5 separate regions of the Homo sapiens genome follow, and all the other regions are linked to region 1. The links are contacts of gene promoters, found by promoter capture Hi-C in blood cells and fetal thymus (Javierre and others, 2016). All regions are on one chromosome and are shown on one strand. The core of a region is centred on a gene start or on the middle of the fragment in contact, and the rest is flanking DNA. Distances in the headings are between cores, read along the strand shown. Region 1 holds the start of TRAP1 (TNF receptor associated protein 1). Region 2 holds the start of SRL (sarcalumenin). Region 3 holds the start of GLIS2 (GLIS family zinc finger 2). Region 4 holds the start of VASN (vasorin). Region 5 holds the start of TFAP4 (transcription factor AP-4).

What was found. Contacts are between HindIII fragments. The CHiCAGO score rates a contact against its expected background, and 5 or more counts as called.
Region 2: a contact is called between the fragment with the promoter of SRL here and the fragment with the promoter of TRAP1 in region 1, in 2 of 17 cell types (neutrophils and naive CD8 T cells). The highest score is 6.5, in neutrophils.
Region 3: a contact is called between the fragment with the promoter of GLIS2 here and the fragment with the promoter of TRAP1 in region 1, in 1 of 17 cell types (M0 macrophages). The highest score is 6.0, in M0 macrophages.
Region 4: the fragment with the promoter of VASN here is called in contact with the fragment with the promoter of TRAP1 in region 1 in 2 of 17 cell types (naive B cells and neutrophils); the score reaches 6.9 in naive B cells.
Region 5: the fragment with the promoter of TFAP4 here is called in contact with the fragment with the promoter of TRAP1 in region 1 in 5 of 17 cell types (naive CD8 T cells, total B cells, M2 macrophages and 2 more); the score reaches 6.5 in naive CD8 T cells.

Annotation. Positions count from the first base shown.
Region 1 is chr16:3,715,502-3,719,075 of GRCh38, forward strand. TRAP1 (TNF receptor associated protein 1) reads right to left here and starts at 2,023. Exons shown (of 18, transcript NM_016292.3): 1 at 1,920-2,023. The coding sequence starts at 2,007. RefSeq lists silencers at 1,624-1,743, 1,764-2,373. The HindIII fragment of the contact is 13,336 bases long and covers 1-3,574 here.
Region 2 is chr16:4,240,402-4,243,671 of GRCh38, forward strand. SRL (sarcalumenin) reads right to left here and starts at 1,679. Exons shown (of 6, transcript NM_001098814.2): 1 at 1,606-1,679. The coding sequence starts at 1,666. The HindIII fragment of the contact is 10,843 bases long and covers 97-3,270 here.
Region 3 is chr16:4,314,574-4,318,180 of GRCh38, forward strand. GLIS2 (GLIS family zinc finger 2) reads left to right here and starts at 1,494. Exons shown (of 7, transcript NM_032575.3): 1 at 1,494-1,681. RefSeq lists enhancers at 1-121, 122-634, 2,756-3,406, 3,407-3,607 and a silencer at 35-329. The HindIII fragment of the contact is 6,668 bases long and covers 1-3,607 here.
Region 4 is chr16:4,369,874-4,373,701 of GRCh38, forward strand. It overlaps VASN (vasorin), which reads left to right and starts at 1,975. Exons shown (of 2, transcript NM_138440.3): 1 at 1,975-2,120. The region is part of intron 9 of CORO7-PAM16 (CORO7-PAM16 readthrough); the gene reads right to left. All of the region lies in intron 9 of CORO7 (coronin 7), which reads right to left. RefSeq lists an enhancer at 1,357-2,182. The HindIII fragment of the contact is 4,747 bases long and covers 219-3,828 here.
Region 5 is chr16:4,271,699-4,275,118 of GRCh38, forward strand. It overlaps TFAP4 (transcription factor AP-4), which reads right to left and starts at 1,325. Exons shown (of 7, transcript NM_003223.3): 1 at 960-1,325. The coding sequence starts at 1,048. RefSeq lists enhancers at 1-518, 60-249, 1,150-1,199, 1,496-2,471 and silencers at 330-489, 850-899, 1,620-2,269. The HindIII fragment of the contact is 8,835 bases long and covers 1-3,420 here.

The DNA of each region.
Region 1 (3,574 bases), core at 773-3,272:
ACATATTTTCCAAATGGAAGGGACAGTGCATGATACAAAGCATGAATCACAAACACCTGTGGACGCGAGACCACAAACGACAAAGAGAAAAAATCTTAACCTCCAAGGGGGAAAAAACCCGAGTCAGCTACAAAAGAAACGAGAACCAAATTAACAGAACAGTTGGCCAGGCACGGTGACACACGCCTGCAATCCCAGCATTTTGGAGGGCAAGGCAGGCAGATCACTTGAGGTCAGGCACTGGAGACCAGCCTGGCCAACATAGTGAAACCCCACCTCATAAAGACAAAAAAATAAATAAATAATTGATCAGACACTGGTGCTAGAAGAGAGCAACAGCATCACTTTCTGAGGGAAAATTATTATTATTTTTGTTGTTGAGATGAAGTCTCACTCTGTCGCCCAGGCTGGAGTGCAGTGGTGCAATCTCAGCTCACTGCAATCTCTGCCTCCTGGGTTCAAGCGATTCTCCTGCCTCAGCCTCCCAAGAAGCTGGGATTACAGGCGCGCGCCACCACACCCAGCTAATTTTTGTATTTTTAGTAGAGACAGGGTTTCACCATGTTGGCCAGGCTGGTCTTGAACTCCTGATCTGCCCACCTCAGGCTCCCAAAGTGCTAGGATTACAGGCGTGAGCCACCGCGCCCGGCCACAAGGTATCTTTTATAGACCACTGGTTTTGAAAAGACATAAGATTCAGCGTTGAAGAAAATACCTTTGGAATAGGCAGTCTTGATGCCTGCTAAAGGGGATATAAATTGATAAGGCCTTTTTGGACAATTTGGCAGTATCTGCTAACATTTCAAAAATGCATAGGCTCTGAAATATCAATTCTAAAATTCTAATTATGTAAGGCTAAAGAAATACCGCACGTGAACAAATATTTAAGTACTCACCCATTCTATGCAGCATTGTAATAAAAAGTAAAACCTGAAATAACCTTTATTGCGTCCACTAATAGGACAATGTTTAAACAAATGACACGTCCATCATACAGAATACTGTGTGGTCACTGGAAGGCACATGGACCTGTATACACTGACATGAAAAGATGTGGAAAGAATGCTGGGAGCGTTAAAATTTTCTGAAGTACAACGTAGCACAATGCATACATGGTTTAGGCTTTTTAGAATAAAAAATACTTATACGCAGACATTTATATTTACACGTATAACACTGTGTACAGCCCCGAAGCAATGCCGAAACTTTCACTGTTGTTACCTCCGAGTGGGGACTGGGAAAGCAGAGGTTAGGGTCGTTCTCTCTGTTTTACAAACATTTATTGGCGCATCCATCAATTCCAGGCCCCGAGGACACAGCTGCGTCAACGACATCGAGTCCACCTGCTCTGGGGACCCGGATGACTGCTATAGGTTTTGTTCACTGTGGCGTCCCCAGAACCTGCACGGCGCCGGGCACTGAGCGGGCGCTCACATGTGCGTCCAATGAACGAATTAACAAATGAACCCTCAGTGCGCTACTGGGAGGCGGGGAGGGGTAAAGCACGATCCATGGAACTAGCACGATCACCCCGAGTGAGTCCATTCCCCGCAACATGCACCCGCAAAGACTCCGCGCTCCGCAGCGGCTCCACCTGCACGTGCGCTACCTGACTGGACCGAAGCTCCAGGAGGGACGACCCCGCAGCCGCTCCGCCCGACCCCGCGACCCCCCAAGACCCAGCCTCCTTCAGGGCTCCCATGGGCGGGTGGCGAGGGGAGTCCAGCCGAGGAAAAGGCAGCCAAGCTGGAGCTGGCGAGGAGCGGAGCGAAAGTAAACGCGTCTGCCGCGCTTGGCCTCGCCGGACCTCCCACGCCTGTGAAGCAGGTGCCGGCGCCTCGCTCCCCGGAGCACAGGGACGTCCCTGCCGTCTCCGTGGCCCGGCCCGCCCGCTGCCCGTCCAGCCAGGACGCCCTCACCTCCCGGCACGGCCGCCAGCGCCGGCGCCCGCAGCAAAGGCCGCAGGCGGCGGCCCCACAGCAGCAGCGCCCGCAGCTCGCGCGCCATGTCGTACTCCCAGAGCGCCGCGCGCAGCCACGCGGGACCGTACACGATGGGAAGGGGCGGGACGGGGCTGCGCGGGGCGGGGCTTCCTCGGGCGCGGGGCGGTGACGTCACGGCGGGCGCCGGGCTGTCCGGGCAGCTGCCTGCTCGGGCGCGTGGCGGGGTACTACCCGTCTCGTGGACGGTCGGGCCTGGGGGTGGGACCTCCGTGACCTTGGATCGCGTTGTCAAGGGCGACGGGCCTTGCGCGCGGAGGTGGGGGAGGTGGCCCCGCCGCCCCCGGCCCACGCTGGCCGGCTGCGCCTAGCTGTGCGCATTCCTGGAATGGGGCGGATGTCAGTATCCACGCGAGGGTGTGGAGGCGACGCTGGGGAAGAAGCAGTTCCCGTGTCTGCGACCTTTGTGAATCCCGGCCATCCGTCTAGGCCGCTGCAAGTCTCTTGCAAACCAAGACTGGACAAAAAGCTAAAGCGAATGAGGAAGGGGATTCCAGGCTTGACTGGCTACTACTCCAAAACCTGAACCCAGTGACCAATACCACCAGGAAAACTGCGGTTATTCGTTTATTCCACTTCTCTTGTCCTTGTCGAGAAGAGTCAAACTCTAAAGTATTTAGAAGGTTATTCTGAGCCAAATATGAGTGTGCATGGAGGGAGGCACAGTCTCAAAAGGTCCTGAGAACTTGGCCCAAGGTGCTTGGGTTACAGCTTGCTTGGTTTTATACATTTTAGAGAGACATAAGACATCAGTCAATGCATGTAAGACATAGGTTGGTTCCGTGTGGAAAGGCAGGACAACTCAAAGGGTGAAATACTTAGAGGTCATAGGTGGATTCAGATACTTTCTGATTGGCAATTGGTTAAAAGAGTTGAGTTCTGGTTGGGCGCGGTGGCTCACGCCTGTAATCCTAGCACTTTGGGAGGCTGAGGTGGGCGGACTGCCTGCGGTCAGGAGTCCGAGACCAGCCTGGCCAACATGGTGAAAACCCATCATCTCTACTAAGATACAAAAAATTAGCTGGGCAAGGTGGCACGTGCCTGTAGTCCCAGCTCCTGGGGAGGCTGAGGCGGAAGAATAGCGTGAACCCGGGAGGCTGCGGTTGCAGTGAGCCGAGATCGTGCCACTTGCACTGCAGCCTGGGCGACAGAGCTGTGACTCCGTCTCAAAAAAAAAAAAAAAAGAAAACAAAAAAAAGAAAAAAAAGAGTTGAGTTATACAGACCTGGAATCAATAAAAAGAGTGTCTGGGTGAAGATAAGGGGTTGTGGGCACGAGCACGGTGACTCACACCTGTAATCCCAACACTTTGGGATGCCGAGGTGGGCGAATTGCTTGAGGTCAGGAGTTGGAGAGCAGCGTGGGCAACATGGTGAGACCCTGTCTGTACCAAACATACCTGTACCGGATGTGGTGGCGGAGGCCTGTAATCCCAGCTACAAGGGAGGCTGAGGTGGGTGGATTGCTTAAGCCCAGGAGGGAGAGGTTGCAGTGAGCCAAGTTCGTGCCATTGAACTCCAGCTTGGGCAAGAGAGCCACACCCTGTCTCAAAACAAACAAACAAACAAACAAAC
Region 2 (3,270 bases), core at 429-2,928, 520 kb after region 1:
GGTATACAGTCCACAGTGGGGCAGAGTCCTGATAAAATCCACCACAGTGGATGAAACCCACAGCCCAAGTGCTGAGCAGGAGCAGGGACAGAGGGAAGCTTTACGCCGGAGGTTGGGCCAGGGGCAGACGCACGCTGTGGGACCCAGGAAGGAAAGACAGCAGAGAGAAGGGACCTTTGCACAAGCACCTGCCTGCGTCCTTTCCCCACGACAAGAGCCCCCAGCGAGGCCTGCAGAACATTCCAGATGACCAGTTCCCTCGGTGGGAGGAAAGATAAAGGATGTCCCTAAAAGGCCAAAAATTCCTGGGGCCCAGTGTGTAGCAGCCCAGCAGCTGGGGCTGGGGGGCAGCACAGGAGCGGCCACGAAGGGAGAGGGTGGCAGCGGCTTGGGGCTCCGGATCCAATTACGCGGCTGTTTCCATACTTAGCCGCCTGACAGCCGCCTGGAATACTCAGCACTCAAGCCGCTGCAGCCCTGCAGAGCCCAAATTAACTCAAGGACAGACAAGGGCAGGGCCCAGCAGCACATGCAGTGGCTGGAGCCCCCCACCTTACATCTTGAGTCCCCGAGAAATAGCTTTTGTTCCCACCCACTGCCTGCTCTCCCTGCAGGGACTGTGCCCCTGCAACCCCCTATTCAACCTCAAAGACCTGAGAGGCTGGACTCTGGGCCTCTCCAGTCCCAGGTACGGACCTAGGCTCAGAGCCCAGCTTGGGGGAAGACTGCCGAGTCATGAAAAGACTCGGTGGGCAGTCCGGATCCTAGGGGGATCCCCGGAGCACCTCCCTAAAAGCATTCCCTCGGGGAACCTGGCCTCAGGAACCTTAGGAACAAGAGAGGTGGCAAAACAATCTGGCATCTCCTCCATAGCCTATAGATAACCCCCATGCTGCAACCCAAGCCACCACCTCTGCTACCCAAAGTGCTGAGATGTCAAAGGGAAGCCTCAGCACACAGAGCCAAGCCCCTTTTCTGATGGAAGCCCCCACCCCGAGCAGAGGCTCTACTCCAGAACGGGCCCCGTTCCTCTTCTGAATTGCATCCAATGCTGTTTCCAGCCCAACCGCCAACTCTATTTCCGATCTTATCCCAAACCAATTCCAATTCTATCTCACTGCTCCCAAAACGGTCCCCACCTTTGCCCACTGTATCCCCTTCTGTCCACGCAAACCCAGTTCTCTTACCCGAGTGGGGCCTCCGCCTTATATCCCACCAGGTGGGAGGGTCACCTCAACGACCTCCAGCTCCCAGACTGTGCTATTTTGTCCGTCTCAGAGGCTCCCCCGTCTCGACTTTGAGGGCCCTCTTTCCCACATCTACTGGCCAGACTCCTCTCTGACCCTGGCTCACAGCTCAGCTCTGTTTGCCGTTCCCACTTCCTCTGGCCTTCCTGAGGGCCCCGCAACTGTGCTGCTATTCTCCAGCACCCAGCTCTTTCTCTGAGGCCCCAGGCCCGGGGAAAAGAGAAGGGTAAGAAGACACCAGCCAAGAGCCAGGGTTTGCCATCAGCCCCGACCCCCTACCCAACCCATGGTAGACAGAAAACCTTGGAGGAAGCGTGGGGGACCAGTCTGGGCTGGGTCATGCTGGGAGGGGCCCTACCTGCTTGTCCTGAGAACAGGAGCGAGGCCAGGAGGCAGCCGAGCAGGACCAGCGCCCTCATGGTGACTGCCAAGAGAGCCCAGCTGCTCCTCGCCTCTATTTATACGGCCGGCCGTGGCAGCAGGCGGTGGAGGGGGGAGAGGGGTCACACAGTCACCAGGGCAACTAGGAGGGTGTGATGGGGAAGAAGCCCGGACCCCAGAAGGCTGTGCAGAGGCTCAGGCTGCGCCACTGCTGTCCCAGCTGCCAGGCCCCAGAAGGCAGGGCCGTGGCTGGATTCTCTTCCCCCGAACCCCTGCAGCCCTGGGATCACATGACATGGGTCACAGGGCGTGGGTGACAGGCATAAAATGGAGCATCCCTTGGGCTCAGGCGGTGGAGCTGGGAAGCTGAGTCTTCCCAGAACTTGCAATAACTTGACCTGAAGTCTCGGCAGGTTAAGGACCTTGACACGCCTGCACTGGAAGGAGGAAGTTGTAAGGCCACGCAAAAGAAATCCTATTTAACAGCCACTGATCCACATGCTAGAGAGTGGTCAGCTACGGCAAACCCGCAACATGTGACCTCTGAGGTCCAAGGCTGCAGCCCTGGAACAACCTTCCCAGCCTCTGGAAGAGAGAGAGCACAGACCAGAGGGAGAGGGGCACACTGAGACACAAGCTGAGGCTACGGTGTAAACTGGAGGATGGAGCAACAGATATCCATTTCCAATGGCCCAGGGGTTCCAGAACATTCAGTCACCTCTGCAAAGTGCTTTTTTGTTTATTTGTTTTTGATAGAGGATCTCGCTCTGTCACCCAGGCTGGACTGCAGTGGCACAATCATCACTCACTGCACTCGACCTCCCAGGCTCAATCAATCCTCCCAACTCAGCCTCCCAAGTAGCTAGGACAGTAGTGCCACCATGCTGTACTAATTTTTTAAAATTTTTTGTAGATGGCCCAGAGAGCCAGTTGTAAGAAGCCAAGGGAAAGCAGACACTTGCTTGTCTGGTCGGGGTACAGTGTCACTGTGTGGGGAAGAGGTAGAAGCCAGCCTTGGAGGAAAGGAACTAAATCAGGGCCAGGCACAGTGGCTCACACCTGTAATCCCAGCACTTTGGGAGGCCGAGGCGGGTGGATCACCTGAGGTCAGGAGATTGAGACCAGCCTGGCCAACATGGTGAAACCCCATCTCCACTAAAAATACAAAAATTACTGGGTGTGGTGGCGGGTGCCTATAATCCCAGCTCCTCAGGAGGCTGAGGCAGGAGAATCACTTGATCCCAGGAGGCGAAGGTTGCCATGAGCCAAGATTGCACCACTGACTCTAGCCTGGGCAACAGAGCGAGACTCTGTCTCAAAAAAAAAAAAAAAAAAAAAAAGAATTAGGCATCTGGTAGGCACTTGACTTTTTTTTTTTTTTTAATCTTTTTTAAGAGACAGGGTCTCTGTCACCCTGGCTGGAGTAGTGACACGATCATAGCTCACTGCAGCCTTGAACTCCTGGGCTCAAGCCACCCTCTCACCTCAACCTCCGAGGGGCTGGGAATACAGGTGTGCACCACATCTGGCTAATTTTTTTGTTTTTTGCAAACATGGTCTTCCTATGTCACTCGGGCTGGTCTCCAACTCCTGGGCTCAAGCAATCTTCCTGTCTCGACCTCCCAAAGCACTACGATTACAG
Region 3 (3,607 bases), core at 244-2,743, 600 kb after region 1:
ATTGTGTGTCCACATAACCCATGAGCACCTGCTATGTGTCCATCTGGGCACCAGCCCAGGAGCACCTACTATGTGCCAAGCCTTGTGCCTGCCATGGATGCCTTGTGATCAAGAGCCACGTGCTTCGGGCTCTGGCGGGGACCGCAGCATCAAATGCACGAATGAAGACGGACTTAAAACCAGCGTCAGATGCCTCACCTCTAGGGGATGCTGATTCTGGGATGCCTTTTTCGTCTCCTAGGCTCCTCAAGGCCAACTGCGCTGGGAAGAGGGGGTGTCCAACAGCAGGAGGGCTGTTTTTTTGAACTACAATTTGCCAGCATACAGCAGAGCAGCAAGAAGATAACAGGGCGGGGGGCACGGGATTAGCCCAAACAAAACACACTCAAGAACGCGAGTCTGTGGTTCAACACGAGGCAGAAAACAGCTGGGCCGGGTGCGGGGCTTCTCCCTCGCGTGTATCCGCTCACTGCACTCGCTGCCCTGGCCGCGGGCGCCGCGCAGGGTGCTGATGTCCAGGAGGGATCTAGACCTCCCGCGGCGCTCGGGCTAGTGGACGCAGGTGGTCCCAAATGCTGGGACCAAGCTAGGAACCAAGCGGAAGCTCGGATTGCTCGGCATCGGGCCTCGTCGTTATTCTACCGTGAGGGAAACTGAGACCGAGGGCACGGCAGGGAGTCGCCCGCCGTCTCACCAGCGTGAGGGGTTGCGCCGGGCCCCGAAAACTGGTTTGCGCCGCCCGGCATCGGGATCCGGGACCTCTGCCCGCCGGGCGCTGCCTGCGCGTTCCTGGAACTGGGCTGGGCGGAGAAATCAGGGCCCGCAGAGAGGCATTCCTGCCGCCTTCCCCGCCGCCCGGGGCCGCAGGGGGGCCTGGCCAAGGTGACCCCGCGGGAGGAGGCGAGGGGTCCCCGCCCGCTCCGCCGCCGCGACCTCCTCCATCTTCCCGGTCTGCGGGGCTTTTCCTCTGGGCCCGCGCGCCCGGCCCCCTCCTCGGGCTTCCCCGAGGGCGGGACGTCTCGGGCTCCCCCGCCCCCCCAGGCCACCTCCCGGCCGTGTCCTAGCGCTGCCCTCGGGCCGGGGGCGGGGCCGCGGGGGGGGGGTGGCGTGAGGATGGGGCCGAGGAGGACGCGCGCGGCTCGGCGCCCCACTTCCCTCCCTCACCCCTCCCTCCCGGTGCCCGCTCCCCGCGGCCGCGCCGCCCTCCCTTCCCCCTCCCTCGGCCCAGCGCCGGCTCCCGCCGCCCCCTCCCCCGACGCGCACGCCCCGCCTGGCAGCTGGCGCCCCGGGCCTGGGGCCGCAGCGGTGAGAGGGGTTTTGCTGGGAGGGAGGGAGCGAGCGAGCGAGGGGAGGGGTGGAGGCCGCCCCCCGCGCCCCTCCTCCTCGCCCTCCTCCGCGGCCGGCGGGCCCTCCTCCCGCCGCCTCCCTCCTCCCTCCTCCCGCCCGCCCGCCCTCCCTCTAAGACATCCCCGCACGGCCCGGCCGCCGCGGCCACCTTCCCTGCCCGAGCTGCAGATGTGGCGGAGCGGCCGGGCGCCGGGCGGCCGTGCCAGGGGAGCCCGCGCCCCGTGAGGCCTCGCGCCCCGGCCCCCGCCCGTCCCGGCCCCTCCCCCGCTCGGCTCCCCGCGCCCCCCGACCGCCGGAGCCCGCAGCCCGGATCCCGACCGCCCCCGCCGCTGAGGTAGGAAGCCCCCCGGGCGTCGCGCCGTGGGGACCGGGCCGGGGCGGGGGGGGGGGGGCCCGCCTGTCGCGCCGGGGCTGCGGGGCCCGAGGGTCTCCTCCCCCGCTCGCGTCCGCGCCCCGGGCCATTGTGAGCCCTCGCCGAGGCCCCCGCGTTCGCTCGCTCGCTGGCTCGCGCGCTCCCTCCCTCGCCGGCTCCCCGGCCGGGTCCCTCGAGCTCTCGGTCTTTCTTCTCCCTCCTTCCTTCCCTCCGTCTGGAGGCCGGGCCGAGCAGCGCCCGGGCCCGGGGCGGGCGCAAACTTCAGCTGGGAAGTTGGGCGGCCGCGGTGGGGGGCGTGCGGCGAGGTGAGAGGGGGGTACCCGGAGCCTGGGCATGAAGTTGTCCGGGGCAGCCGCCCCTCCTCTCGGCCGCGCCGGGGCTGCTGCTAGGAAGGGCTTTGGAAGGTGCCTCCTCCCTTGGCCGGGAGAGTCTCCCTCCTGCTGCCCCTCGCAAGCCCGGGTCCTTCCTTGGACCTCGGGAAGGGGCGTCCCTGGGGGGTCAGGACTGGGAGTTTGGGACAAGTCAGGCACTTGTTACTCCCCTGCGGTCCGGGTGGACGCAGGCGACCGGCCTGGCAGGGAGGAGATGGCAAGGGGTCCATACTCGCCGGAGGGCGGGTCTGGAGCGGGTGGAGGAGGGGGCGAGGCAGGTGCATCCCGAGGGAGGAGAAGCACGCACAGCTTCCCCGCTGGCCCCCTGGGATGGGGCTGGAATCCAGGCTGGCACCTGGAGGCCTTGGCATGCTGCCCTGCCCAGCAGGGTACTCGGGCCACAGCAGGGCAGCGTGCAGCCTGTCTGCCTGTCCAGGAGGGCCCGCCCAGCCTGGCCAGAGGGTGGCCGGGAAGCAATGGTTTCAAGGAGTTGCCCAGCCCTGCCCTGGGGCCTGGGAAGCTGGAAGGGATGCTGGGAGGGGCCCTGGGCCCCCAGCCATCACAGCCCAGGATCTTGGCTCTGGAGGGAACGCTTGACACTGAGGGGGCAGCCAGGCCGGCTGGGGACCTGGCCAAGGCCTGGGCTTGGTCTGGGCCATGGAAAGGGCCTGGGCCATGGTTCTTGGAGGCTGGCACCCTGGGTAGTAGGCCGCCATCCTGCGTGTCCTGGCATCCTGGAGGGAAGGTGGGGCCAGCCTGCGGCTGGGGAGGAAGCCCAGAGACACTGCGCTTCGGAGGGCCTTCCAGCCCCCGGGCTCAGGGGAGGGGAAACTGGCCCCTTGGGTCACCCCTCCCCAAGCCCCATTCTGGTGCCACAGTGCCACAGCTGTCCAGGCCCAGCCCACACACCCATCCCGGGTGACCTCGGACCTCCCCCTCTGCTTCTCCTTCTCCCCAGAGCCCAGGCTGGGCCTCCTAGCTGGCCTGGCCTGCACAGGGGGAGGGGCTGCACCTGGGAGGCCCCTCCCAGGACACCCTTTGCCAAGCTCCAGCCTGGCCCATTTCACTGCCCACCTCCAGCTCAACTTGGCCCTGTCTGCAGCCAGCCAAGCAGGAGACAGTGCCAGGGACTTGGGATGGTGTTTTGGGGGGTGTGCGGACCCCTTGGAAGCAACCCTGTTTTTCTTAGCCTTTCCTCCTCCCCCTCCTTTCCGGAGCTGCCATTAGCGCTGACCCCCTGTGCCTGCCCGCCCTTCCCTGTCTGTGACCTTTGACCTTTGGTGTTAAATCCCTCCAGCTGGGGCTCTTCGGCCCCTGAGTGACCCTGGCCCAGGCCCCCTGGGGAGTTCTCTCCTTGCTCCTGGCTCTCTACACAGGGACACCTGCCAGTCCCTCCCTCACCAATGGGGAGGGGGTGCCCTGGGAAGCCAGACAGTGAGTCACCCCACTTCCAGGCACCGCTGCTTTTGGGGTCAGTGGCTTCTGGGGATTGGCTGGAGCCCAGTCACAGCTTGGA
Region 4 (3,828 bases), core at 725-3,224, 650 kb after region 1:
TGTGTGCAGACTGCTGGTAACCAGGTTCTAAAGGCGGGTGGCACCTTGAAACCATACAAGGCAATGTTGGATAAACTGAGAGGGGTCTCCTAAAAGCTTCCCTTGAGCCTCTGGGTAAGTGGGGACCTGTGTAAGGCCAGGGCACAGGATTGGGGCAGGGGGTGAACACCAGGCAGATGGGGTCTCTCCGTCTACAAGAACCTGCCACAGAGGTGAGAAGCTTCAAGGACATCAGGAGGTCCTGTTCCTTGAGGAAAGCCAGGCTGGAGGCTCTTGGAGCCCTCTTTACCCCTGACCCTGGGCATCTGTGGATGCTTCTGAGGGCTTCAGAGGACACAGGGCCAAGGGAAGAGGCAGGGAAACAGTCCGACAAGAGGCTGCACAGCACTGATTGGAAACTCAGATGGTTCTGGGGCCGGGCAGGAAACTCAAGTGAGTGGACAGCTTGGCAGGAGGCAGCAGGGAGTGGTGGGGACTGGGGTGACCCATGAGCCCACATTTTGGCAGAGGGAGCAACCGCCACTCAGCCCCAGCTGAGAGTTCCTGTTCAATGCAAGCTGGGAAGCCCCATTTTAATATGAAACCACCTGATTTTTCAATGTTAGCAGTGCCTTCAAAGTTGTAAAAACTCCCATAAAGCCTGCACTAAATGCACCCAAAGGCCAGCCCCAACCCAGGAACAGAGGTCCGCAAGCCATGCCCTAATCCATGTAGACCGAGAAACGTATGGGTTGTGGAGCCCTGCCAGCCCTGGAAAGGGGCCCTGTGGGGAGAGGGCCCTGTGGACGGGAGGTCCAGAAGGTGACTGTCCCAGCCAGGCCCTGCTTAGCCCTTGACGGCTAGACACAGAGGCCATCCTGCCTTCTGGAGATAACTGAGTCCTCCAGAGACTAGGAAACCCTCCAGCTGGTGTGGCCCAGCCTCCCAGGGATAAGCCTTCAGGCCCCCCAAAGACTAGAGCTAGCCCAGCCAAGGGCCTTGGCTACAGGCCGGGCTGGAGGGGGTGTGGGTGTCCCAAGGCTCTCCGGAAGTCAGGAGCTGAGCTGGGCCCCCAAAGGCTCTGAGGCATGACTGACCACAAACGCGGAGGGGGAGGAGGGCAGAGTGTTTTCCTGGAATCCTCCAAGGCAGGGGATTTTTCTGGACTAGTCCGGCCCCTGGCACCCGCCCCTCCTGCCCAATCAAGGGCCACTGTCAACTGCAGCCCAGGCCCCACCCACCGACGGTGACCACCCCTATGCCTCCACAGCTCAGGCTTGAAGCTGCCAGTAACTGTGGGGCCGTGGGCAGACCACCACTGCCCTCCCTGACACAGCCCCTTCATCTCATAATATGGTGGGGAAGAGAGTCCAGGGCTGCTCACAACTCTTAAGGCTGTCGTGGCTAAGAGGACCCTGAGCTCAGATTTGGCATTGGAGTTTATACTTAGGAGGCTCTTGAAAGGGCTTTGTGTGGGCTGCCAGGAGTTTTTTGAAATTGGGATTAGCTACCAACAATAACACATTGAGAGATTTCACCTAAAAATCTGGATTTCCAGTTTCTCTTCAAAAATCCAAAGCTCTAGCTGGCCCGGGCTGGTCATGAGGACTCAGCCCTTACCAGCCCCACTCCCGCCATCCTGCCTCTCCAGGGCCGCAGAGGCCCTGGGGTGGACTTCTGGCATTTGTCACCTGCCTGGTGCCTCATAGGCATCTGGGCTGTGACGCTTAGGATTCCTAAATAGTCTCTCGCTTTTTACACAAAAAGCAGAAACCTGCCCAGTGTCATCCGGCAAACCCACGACGGGCAAGGTCTCCCCGCGCAGGTCAGGTGGCCGCAGGGTGAGGGCCAGGGCAACCCGGCCCACGAGCCCCTCGGTGGGGAAGGGGCGTGTCTCCACGCGGCTCCGCCCCGGCCAATGGGGAGAGGCCCCGCCCCTGCCGCGGCGGGCCCGCCCCCCGGGACTCTTAAGGCGCGACCTGCCTCCAGCGAGCCGACTCCGGAGCCCGAGCCCGGGGCGGGTGGACGCGGACTCGAACGCAGTTGCTTCGGGACCCAGGACCCCCTCGGGCCCGACCCGCCAGGAAAGACTGAGGCCGCGGCCTGCCCCGCCCGGCTCCCTGCGCCGCCGCCGCCTCCCGGTGAGTTTCTGTGGGGCTGGGGGGCTGCGGGCGGGGAAGGGGGCGCCACGGCCAGGCTGTGCACACGCGCGGGGACCGCCGCCGCGCGCACACACGCACTCTCGGGCGGGACCGCGGCCCCAGCCCCACACGGTCACCTGGGCCGCCCGGCGGGCAGGCCCTGTACGCTCCCTCCCCCGCCGTCCTGGGGCGCCGACAGCCCCGCGGCCGGCCAGGGTGCGCGCCTGAGTGTGCGGTGAGCCCGCGAGGCTGCAAGCAGACAAAATAAACACCCCGTCCCATGCTTCCTCCTCCCACGGCTGGGCCTCCGGCATGACCAGTTTTATGAATCAAACCCCTTTGAGGGGGATAGCCAAGCCACAGGCTTGGGTCACTTTTCCCTCCTGGGGTCCGGCAGTAGGTGCTGCTGTGCAGAAGGGCTGCCCGGGGTCCTCTGGACCCTTGTCACTCAAAGCACAGCTGGGGGCTACAGATATGCAGCCCTAGGGAGGGGCGGGGAGTGGCTGGTGGGCGTCCGATGCCCATCCCTCCAGGTGGGGGATGGACCTGTACTGGCCAGGGCCCTTAGAGCTTCGGGTATCAGGCAGGGTGCCGGGTCTCTGCCTCTGCCAGGGAAGGGGCTTTGCTTGGGCTGCAAACCCAGTGGCCTGGAGCCAGCCTAGTCCTTTGTGTCCCTGGGCTGGCAGTGCTGGGGCCTGAGGACTGCTGAGGTCCCCTGTGGTCACTGGCAGGCCAGCCGATTGGTGCCAACCATTCTGCCTCTCCCCCATTCGTTAACGATTGCCACACCAGGGTCACTGACCGCCTCCCCTGCTGTGGCCCAGGGGTGGAGTGTGCAGGGTGGAAGGAAGAGGTCCTGGGGGTCTAGGTGTCCCCATGCCTGCCTTTTGCACCAAGGACAGGTGAGGCTCTGGAGAGAGGCAGCGGGACCTAGAGCCCCCTTCCCCAGGCTGAGAGCCTCCAGGGCTGGGGATTGGATAAAATCTCCAAGGTCCCTTCACACTAGACTGTACTTTGGGTGTTGAGGGCATAGAGGGGTGGCCGGGCTGGGACCTTCCAAGCAGGGTCCATTAGGGCCAGTCCAGGGGGCAGCAAAGTCCAGGATGGGCCCAGCTATTGACAAAAACCCAACAGAGCTGGGGCAGGCGGGTGGGGGATGGGGAGCAGTCCCCTGAGTTTACTCTCTTCTCCCAGGGGAGTTGGCCTGGAGCTTCTGTAAACAGAGTGTCAGAGGCAGGAAGAGGCTCTGGTGATGAGCAGCCCAGCTGGATCCCCTCCAGACCATTATCTAGCCTCCCCTGGGCCTGGGGAGGGAGGATGCGCACACACATGCCAGCCTGGGGGCCGGGCACTGCCTGTCCCCACCCCGCCCCTGTCTCCTGCACGTTGGAACAGCTGTCCTGCTACCTGTGGGTCCGGAGGGTCAGATGGGGATGGGGCTGGGGGCTGGGGTCCCAGGGCATTTGTCCAGATGGCACCTCTCTCTCCATATTCTGGGAATGGGAGAATGGGATTCAGCATAAGGAGCCTCTCAGACACTGCCCAGACCTGTGCTTACCCGAGGAAGGCCCCTCTGGCACGCAGCCCAGGGGCCAGGGAGATGGCAAGGGAGATGCCCCGGGCAGGAGATGGGTCCGCGGCTCCTAGCTCCCATTACTGTCACCCCCACTGACAGCCCCGGGGGAGCTGGGACAAGTCCCAAGTACAG
Region 5 (3,420 bases), core at 75-2,574, 560 kb after region 1:
AGGGGCGTTGGATGGGAAAGTTTGCAGAGGAAACCCACGTGCGGCGGGAAGCTGCCCTGCGAGGCTAGGGGCGGCCTCAGGTGTCCCTTCCCCAAATGGCCTGCCCACCTGGCCTGCCTTGCCCATCGTGCCCGCGGGGGCCGAGCTTTGTGCAGGGAAAGCGTGGCCCAGGAGCGCCTACAAATCCCACAATGCTGCACCAGCAGGACACGGAGAACTACAGCTCCCGCGAGGCCGCGCGCAGAGGTCCGCCTACTCCAAGAGGGCTGCAGAGTCACGTCCAGGCCTCGCTAGTAAACAGCGCCCGGGCGCGGGCGGGCGAGCGAGCGGCAGCCAACGTGCCCCGGGCCGCGGCGCCCCTACCGGCCGCGCGGGCCCCTCGGGGTCCGCCCACCCCCAACACCCACACGCGAGCACGCCCCCGACCCCGCTGCAGCCCCGCTCTGCAAACACGCACAGTGCCCGGCTCCCCGCCCCCACCCCGCGCCGGGAGCCGCGGCATGGCTGCATTGTAGCCGCCCTAGCTACACCCCCACGCGCGCCCCGGGCCCCCAGACCCCCTTGGATGGGGACGACCTCAGATCCCGAGGAAGGAAGGAGAGGAAGGAAGCCGCCGCAGGAGGGGGAAAGAGGAAGCGCGGGGGGGAAGGCCACCAGCACCAAGCATGGCCGGGACTGCTGCAGAACCACGTGGGTCTGTTTGCAATTTACAAACGTCGCGACTCGCCCGCCTGCAGCGGACAAAAGTGGCCGGGGCCGCTTGGGGCCCCCATGCTCCAAGGAAGGAGGGTCCCGGGGCGGCGCGGACCCGGCGTGTGGGGCTGCAGCCGTCCCGGCAGCTAAGAAAGGCTAGCGGGGTCGGCGGCGCGGGCCATGCGTGCGCACACGCGCGCCCGCCCGGGCGGGCTGGCCGGGGGCTGCAGTGGTAGGAAGGGGGTGGGGGGAGGAGGAGTACACACCTACAGAGCCCTCCTATCACTTCTTTCTCTGTTTTCCTGAAATGTTGCAAAGAGGGCACCTTCTGAGTGGGCACCATGAAATACTCCATAGCGATCGGCCCCCCTCCTCTGCACGAGCCAGGTCCCGCGATCAGCCGGAGAATGCAAGATGGAAATCCGAATCAAAGGGCAGCGCCGGACGGAGGTGCAGAATCGGCCGGTCCCAGATGCTGGCGGCGGCGGCGGCGGCGAGGGGAGGGAGGCGGGCGGGAGGGGCGGGAGGGAGGTCTCTCCGGCCTGCCTCCCCGGGCGTGTGTATGTGTGTGTGTGTGTGTGTGTGTGTGTGTGTGTGTGTGTGTGTGTGTGTTTGCAGCTGATCAGATGTCTGTTTCAAGGCGGGAAACAGCTGGTGAAAACTCAGCACTCCCCCGGCCTCCTTCCGCGGAGTAAGGAATTGCATGTAAACAAAGGACTATTTGCAGCGCCCCCCGGGCGGCGCGAGGCCGGGGCGAGAGGGGCGCGGGCCCCCGGGGACCGGCTGCAACCGGGGTCTGCAGGCCTCTCGCGGGGCGCAGGGGGCCGGGGGCCGCGGGCGGGCTTGCGGGGCGCGGCGTGAATGGAGCGAGCTGCGGCCGAGCTACATGCGCCACTATGGGTGATGAGGTCCATCAGCTGACAGGTTGGCAAGCGTTGCAAAAAAAAAAAAAAAAAGGCCAGCCACCGCGCAGGGAGCCCAGCCCGTGCAGCCCGGAGTCCAGCAGCGACTGGCCCAGAGCAGGGTCCGCGCGCTCGGCCGGCCCGCAGGGAGGAGGGGGCGCGGCTGGGTCGGGCGTGCAGCGGCAGCAAGGAAGGCGGCCTGGGGTTCGCGCTTGGGGCTTCTGCTTTTTCACCATTGCAGCTGCACGGAGCGGAGCCTCTCCGGTGTGCTCCCTTCGAGCCGAGCCCAGGGCCCCCTGGAAACTTGCGTCACAGCCACCGCTTCCCACATGTAACTCGGGGCTGACTTCGGAGGCCGGCCAGCTTCCTCCCTCCCGCCTTGCTTAGCTGGCCGCACGGCCGGGACTCCGGATCCTGGGAATCTTGGACCCGGCGACGGGACGGCAAAGGGCGCCTCGGATGCTGGGGCCGCCCTAGGAAGCCGGGGGCCCCGGCAGGGAGGGGAGGGTGGAGGCGGGCCTGAACGGCAGCGGCCCCCGGGCGCAGGCTGCCAGCGCTGCGGGGAGGTCTGCTGGTTGCTGCCGGGTCCCCTGCTATTCCCCCAGACCCGCACTGTTCCCTCCGCGGGCTGAAGGCTGCAGCTTCCCATTCATAACAAAGCCCGTGTGGGACTTGCCCCTCCGCCAGGATGCGCTCCCCAAGAGGGGGTGACGACTTGGGGCAGGGACGGGGACCCTGGCGGCGAGCTTCCGTCCTCCGCTCGCACGCCGCACCTTCCGGCCCCAGGCCCTCCCCTGGCTCCTGGAGGGTTGGCTCCTGGCTCAGGAAGCCCACGCCTGCCTTGGAATGTCCTGGATCCTGCCCACCGCCTTCCAGGTTCCGCCTAAATCGCGCCTCCTAATTTGACTTATTCCTACTAGTAACAATAGTTACTGTTATTATTGGGAAATATTGTTATTAGATGTTGCCAGCACCCGGTGGATGCCGAGCAGTTTTGCTTACACGCTCTCCAATCCTTGAAGCAACCTGTTAGGCAGTTTCTCTAAGGAGAGATCCCAGACCACTTGACCAAAAAAAAGTCTCTGGAAGGCTTACTATGTTTCTACTTAAAAAAAAAAAAAAAAAAAAAAAACTTTCGGCTGGGCGCGTTGGCTCACGCCTGTAATCTCAGCACTTTGGGAGGCTGAGGCGGGTGGATCACCTGAGGTCGGGAGTTCGAGACCAGCCTGACCAACATGGAGAAACCCCGTCTCTACTAAAAATGCAAAATTAGCCGGGGGCCTGGTGGCACATGCCTGTAATCTCAGCTACTCGGGAGGCTGAAGCAGGAGAATCGCTTGAACCCGGGAGGTGGAGGTTGCAGTGAGCCAAGATCATGTCATTGCACTCCAGCCTGGGCAACAAGAGTGAAACTCCGTCTCAAAAAAAAAAAAAAAAAAAAACCTTTTTACTGTTTTTCAACAAATAGAGATAGGAGTCTCACTGTGTTGCCCAGCCTGGTCTTGAACTCCTGGGACTCAAGGAATCCTACCTCTACCTCCCAAATTGCTGGGATTACAAGCATGAGCCATGGATGGCCCTGGTGGGAAGCCTATTTTTAACTGCCCTTAGTGAGCAAGCTATTCTTTTTTTTGTTTTGTTTTGTTTTGTTTTTTAAGACGGAGTCTTGCTTTGTCACCCAGGCTAGAGTGCAGTGGCACGATCTCGGCTCACTGCAACCTCCGCCTCCTGGGTTCAAGTGATTCTTCTGCCTCAGCCTCCCAAGTAGCTGTGGTTACAGGCACACACCACCAAGCCCGGCTAATTTTTGTATTTTTAGTACAGA